Regions from separate parts of the Homo sapiens genome. Here region 1 is linked to region 2. Evidence: promoter capture Hi-C in 16 types of primary human blood cells and fetal thymus (Javierre and others, 2016). All regions are on one chromosome and are shown on one strand. The core of a region is centred on a gene start or on the middle of the fragment in contact, and the rest is flanking DNA. Distances in the headings are between cores, read along the strand shown. Region 1 overlaps ARRDC4 (arrestin domain containing 4). Region 2 holds the start of MCTP2 (multiple C2 and transmembrane domain containing 2).

Region 1 (3,247 bases), core at 346-2,845, 3.7 Mb before region 2:
GACTAATTCTTACTCCTTAGTTCAGGTGGTAGTTTTCCAGGCAGAGGGTCTGGGCGGTTTCCTTGAAATGACATACCATCACATCCTCCTTGTATAAAGTATAGTGCTCATATCTACTGGAGTGTTTGCGTAGAAAGGGGTGGCATACTTAGGTCAGTGTGTCCCAGGAAGAGTCCCTTGACTACCCATGAGACCTGCTAAATCGATCCTGGGGAGATTCTGGACAATCACACACTCAAACTCAGGAGGCTTTAAAGAGTAATCCTTATCATTTGGGAATAAATGATGATATGCTTTTTTAACCAATATAGCTTTAGTTTCCTCACTTGTCTCAGCTACTTTTCTTCATGGAATGCTAACACTGGACTACCTTGGGAACCGGAGCCCACTGTAAAAACAAAGTCAGGTTCTAGGGCTGTTCCTCCCTCATGATAACACACCTAGAGAAAAGGATTTCAACTGCAGCAACATTTGTTTTTTTGGCATTGAGTTCCCTTAAGTCTATAATAATTTATATTTGAAAAAAAAAACTAGCACCTCATAGCATTAGTGTAATAATTTTATTAATAAAACGAACCCATAGGGTTCAAACAAGCATACAAAGTAATTTTTTTTCCTGTGGGTTAAATTGTTACATTTTTAATAATAAAAATAAGAAAGCTTTCATAGTTAACTTACCAAAAACATAACGCTTGCCTATTGTTTCTTACTGTGCAAAACAAAAACAAAGTTTTGCCCACAGAAGGATTTTGTGCACCAAAACATGCACATTTTCAATTTCAAAATTTCTGCATCAAAATGAAAATTCCAAGGCCACGTTTTTGTTTTTTCAAACTAAAGAAGAGCAAGAGGGGAATAACCAAGCAAATAACAGCAGCTACATTTTTAATCTTCATTCCCAGGTATTTTCTGTTTCAATGTAGAATTCTCCACATTCATAAAATGATATCTTCAACCTACTGCTTACAGTCAGATATGCCAGTATCATTTCAATAAGGCAAGTCACACCTTTTAGCTATTCTCTTAAGTCCTACAGAGATAGTTTCACTTCAATTTCACAGGGACACTTCATGATTTATCTAATAAAGGTGATAAGACAATCCTAGTGAAGGATTCCTTTAAGTTGTTGCTTTTCTAGATGGAACCAAATAATTAAACTTTCTCTTCTCCATACTGGAGTTTGTTTCTTTCATTATGTTTTAGTATCATGGAGTCGAACAATGCCTTGGCAGGGCATGAACTATATAACTCAGAAGTCAATAAACAGTTGAAGATGATCTTTTCTAAAGTAAAAATCAACTGTTTAGACAACACTTAAATACACATTACCTGTTTAAAGACACACACACGAAAGCAAAATTTAAAAACCAAATCAAGGAATAACGTTTTGTGACAATTTCAGTAGCACAATTACTGGTCTAACAGTTTTGCATTGTGGGAATTTAAATAGCGGCTTACAATGAAAGAACTATGCACGATGCTTCCAGGATTGCAGAGGAGAGAGGTAAGCCCAGAGGATGAAAAGCATACATTTGCCTAATGTGTGTAGAAAATTCCCTGATCAAATGGCCAACTAACTTTTAAATACAAAATTTAACCTTAGAAGAACTTTTCTATTTTTGGTGAACATGCTGATTGAAAGAAAAATCAATCATTCTGTTAAATGAAGTACAGTATTCTGCAGGGGAAGCACCAGGGTTTCTGGATCAAACCCTTAGGACATGAAGAAAACCAAAGTACTCTGCTGGTTCAAAATCTGTATCACAGGAATCCCTGGCTCCCTTCCATGTGTCCAGAGATGCTCTCAGCTCACAAAACCAACAGATGGAAGGAAAAGCAAGTGAACATGTGACCATGTGGGAGGGGGGCTGGGGACGGTAAAACACTGCTCAGACTTTCAGCAGCAACACAATCCTGTTGGTCTGAATATCCTGAGGTTAAATGATAATAAAATATTGCACCAACACAATAAAGAAAATCACAGTTTAAACAGAATTACTGAAGAACTGGAATAATGTACAATGCAGTGACTGCCATCAGTAGACCTAGGTCTCTTGACAGGAATTAAAGTTGTGTCTTTTCTAAAAATGGCACTCCTACCTTCTTTTGGTTTGGTGTTTATTTTGACATTCTCTTAGGTATACATATATTTACTTCCATTTAACGCTAACTTACTGAATTTTCCCCTTGGCCCAGTTTCATATTTAGTGATAGATGAGACTGTGGCTGTAAACAGCAGCAACTCCCAAGAAGAGTACTCAGGGCGAGAGATTTAAAAACATATCTGATAACCCCATTAGAGGTAGGTTAGAAAAAGGCCTTTTATTTGGGACTGTGTAGTTATCAAGGCATCCTGCAGATGCAACCTTTTCTCTCCCTTCTTTCTCTTACATGCTCCTAGGTAAATAAGATATGAGGAAAATCAAACGTATATCCTGTTAAAGCACTTAAAGGGGGTAAAAAGTACAGCCCTCAACAAAACGTGTTTTCACATTGAAATTCATCTTTCCTCTTTGAACCGACAAGCTTTTCAAGAAACCCTTTCTTGGTTTCATAATACCGTACTGCCGATTTATAAACTATATTTTAGTCTACCCTTGAAAGAATGAAAACTGTAGTACTTCATTAGGACCTCATATGACCATGATCTCAAGAAAAGATGCTTTTTCAATGTCTTTAGGCCTGAATATGGTAGGAAATCATGAAGCACCCAAAGACTCAGGATCTCACTTCGTATTTGGAGTGGGCCATTCTCCTATGCACACACACCCTTGTTTTGTTGCCCTCTCCAAAATCAAGTCTTCACCCCTTCAGTTCATATCGCCTTCGTTCCACTCTTCACCATGGGAAACTCCCACAGTGTTTCCACTGTTTACAGATTCCTTTCTCTCACGTCAGCGCAGGCACCCTTTCACTTACTCTGTAACCATCAGGACTTCCATTACATTCTGTGACTTTGCACATCTTCATCCCAGTTTTTAACAGGGATATATATACGACCATCATATAAACTTGTGCGGCAATCCTGCCGGCCCACCAGAACTTTCTCACATTCTTTAATTTCTATTGCCTTCAGTCTTGACGTTCATTTATGTTTTCAAGTGAATCTTTCCTGTCTCTTTCCCAAAAAGGCAGAAGGAAAAGAACCAACATTCTAATTTGATGATGAACACAGTGATTTCTGAAATACGTTCAGAGAATGAAGGAAACAGGCTGGCTCTCTTCTACGTCGCTAGGATGTGGGTCA
Region 2 (3,105 bases), core at 47-2,546:
AAGCATGGTTTTGACAATTTTTATTGCTTTGGAATGACTGATCAGGCTAATGACAGAGACTCTTCAAAGATTTACATTCTCCCTGCATTTAAATACTTATAACCAGCGATTACACAGGTGCTGCTGAGGCAAAGCGCAGCACCATTGGTCTCGTTCTAAACACCCACCTGTGAGGAATAAGTGCCTTAAGATTCCCCTTTGTATTAATATCAACACCTGTGCTACCCAACAGCACACCAGCCCGGCTCTCAGAGGTCTGCCCGTTAACAGGTGTACAATAAATATTTGTTGAATTGAAATGCTACTGACTCAAGCAAAAAATGAATGCTAATGTAAATTATAATCCATACAAATCCTTCAATAAGTGGTGTCTGAATTCTGTGCGTCCTGAAGCAAGTGTTCTAACGTCTCACGGTTCACTGAGAAGCTGCTTGGTACCTTAAGGGTTCGCACCCTTGTACCTTCCAGACCAAGCTCTTGTAAGCATCTAGAGGAGGCTGAAACCCTCAGTCAGCATCGCACAGAAGTTCATTCAGACTAGAGAAAACCTCTTTTATGGCAACCCAATCATTTAAAAAAAGCCGTCAGCACATTTGCTTAACAAATGGACAGTGCAGGAGGGAACTAATTGCGGAAACTAATCGCCACTCAAGTTCACCACCAACATCACTGTCTTTATTTTTAACTTACTTATCTTCAGTGGGATTGAGACACTGTTTGTTACCTACGCAATTATCCCAAGGATTTCTGCTCCGGTGTCGTTGAGCAAATGTCAGCGCAAAGAATTAAAGTTGAACCTCCGGGTCTCTACGAAGAGAGCGTATTAAAGCCCACCCAGCTGAGGAACTGACCTCTGTGGAAGGAGTCCTGGATGTGGCGGTGACTACCTCCGTAGCGCCCCGGGGAGACTGAATGTGTGGCCTTTAAAATGCAAAGAAATTCTGGGCCAGGCTGCCCTCCCCTAGTGCGCCTTCCAGTACGCCACGCCTGGATTTCTGCCTCCAGTCCTCAGGACACCTTTCTGATCTCTGAACCACAAGCAGCTCCGGGGTAGTAGCGCCACTGAATTCTCATCCTGGACCCTCCAGCTCCCCAACTCCCAGCTTCGGTTGAGAGAAGACGCCCACCCCCAGGCGGCGACCGTGCTGCCCGGCCCACGCGCGCTGCCAGGTGAACCCGGCACCGCCCTCACCTGTGCGAGGCCGCGTTCGGGGGCTGCAAAGCTGGGCAGGCGCGCGCCCCTCACCTGCACCGGACCCGCTGCAGTCGCCACTCGGAAGCGCAGGGAGCAACCCTGACGCGGCGGGGGCGGGGGCATCACCGAGGGCCCCCGGACTTCCTCGGGCCCCCCCACCGCCCTTGCGAGCCCCGCCTAAAGGGGAGGAGGCGGCCGCGCGTCACCTTTGAGCAGCCTCCGACCCAAGCGCCCGCGCTGCCGCCGGGAGCTCGGCCGGGTGTTGCAAGGAGGCGCTATGCTTGGTGCTGGGCACTGGCTGGGCGTAGAGAAGGCGATTACTTGTAACTCATTCGTTTGGGTTGGCTCACAGGAAAAGGAAGGTGTGTCCAAAAAGTCCGAAGTGAGGAAATAGGACGAGGATGGCTTGCAAACTCGTAAAGTCTTAATAAGCTGTCTTCGCTGATACTCAGAAGGGTTCTCTTCGCTCCTGTAGGTCCCTAATAGATTCATGGGAAGACAGCAGCCTCCCTTTGTAACGCCCTGACCCTGGGAAGAGGTACCCGAGCCAGACAGCCTATTAACCTATGCCACGTGTGCGCGACTGTGGGTGGAAGATGCCCGCCCAGATCCACAGAACTGTTTCCTGAGCCTTGGTGCCTCATCTATGAGATAAGGCCGGCGTACTGCTCAGCAAGCCGTCCCGAGTACTCGGCAGAGAACCCTAAAGACCCTCCCGTGCGATTGTTGGCACTCAGCGAATATTTGCTATTTATTTCCCCTTTCCCTTACTTTCTTTTTCTACTTTTTTTTACGCCGCTTTCCTGCTGTAATTGTCTTATTGCACTTTGTTTGCTCGGTTTCACTGCCTGGTCAGTTTCTTTTCCCGTCTATGAACGAGCCTAAGTCTGTGCGCTCTAGGAATTTGGGTGGATTAGGAAAAGAAATGTATGATCCATGCCTTCTGGGAGATCAGGGACTCATCTCTGGGAAATAGCATTTTTAAATTAGATACAAGAGAGTTACAGAAAATAACCTTAAAACGGGAATGGGACCTCTGGGAATAGGCGAGCTCTGAAATGAAGCGTTTAGTTGGTGTCACTGGTGATTAAGAGCTCCGGCTTTGGAGTCAGACCTCAAATCAAATTCTGCCTGGGCAACTAATTGTGTAAATGGACGAGTTCACTTAACCTCTCTAAATTTTAACTTCAACAAACTGGTTGTTTAAATAGCTTAAAATAGCTTAAATAGCTTAAAATAATAGCTATCTCATACTTTCTGAGAAATTAATTAGGTAATTCACATAAAATCCTCATTACAGTGTCCTGGGCCATGGTAACCACTTAATAAAAGTTAGCTATTAACAATACTAAGGTAGGAAATGGGAGGAAGGGGCATAAAAATTTAGAAAACATGAGGACGTGATAGAAAACAGCTGCCACTGTCATGCAATTCCGACTTACAACAATAGCTACCACTGAGGAACACAACTTCGCACCAGTTTCTGTGATTGGCATGTAACACGTGATCATATTGAATTTTCACAAACCAGGAGACAGTTAATAAAATCTCTGATTCAAGATGAGGAAAATGAGCATCAGAACCATGAAATAACCTGCCTGAAGCTATGAGTCAAGTTAGTAGCCGAGTCAGAGCAAGCTGAGGCCTATGGCAAAATTGGCTTTTCCCACCGTGCCGAAGGTTACATCCCCTAGCAGAGAACAGAGAGAGGTAAGGGTAAAACAGCATGAAAGGAAGAAGAGAAAGAGCAGTAGGCAGACGAAGCAATCATACCTTTAAAGCTGACTAAGAATACAAATGAATTAAAATAGTAAGTGAACCCACACAAAAGCTTTTTTGCCTTTAACTCCTGCCCCAGTGGAGTTCCTGTTCTGTGGTTCCGGCAGTCCAACCGCATTTTTCAATCATTA

Evidence for each region. The method cuts DNA at HindIII sites, captures the fragments that hold promoters and counts their contacts. A CHiCAGO score of 5 or more calls a contact.
Region 1: a fragment that was not itself captured here is called in contact with the fragment with the promoter of MCTP2 in region 2 in 1 of 17 cell types (M2 macrophages); the score reaches 5.4 in M2 macrophages.

Annotation. Positions count from the first base shown.
Region 1 is chr15:97,971,133-97,974,379 of GRCh38, reverse strand. It overlaps ARRDC4 (arrestin domain containing 4), which reads right to left. Exons shown (of 8, transcript NM_183376.3): 8 at 547-3,247. The coding sequence ends at 3,193. Among named protein-coding and RNA genes, the nearest start is that of ARRDC4, 12 kb to the right of the region's middle. RefSeq lists an enhancer at 2,769-3,247. The HindIII fragment of the contact is 1,866 bases long and covers 663-2,528 here.
Region 2 is chr15:94,229,752-94,232,856 of GRCh38, reverse strand. MCTP2 (multiple C2 and transmembrane domain containing 2) reads right to left here and starts at 1,296. Exons shown (of 23, transcript NM_001385001.1): 1 at 1,193-1,296. RefSeq lists a silencer at 1,237-1,366 and an enhancer at 2,902-3,041. The HindIII fragment of the contact is 9,020 bases long and covers 1-3,028 here.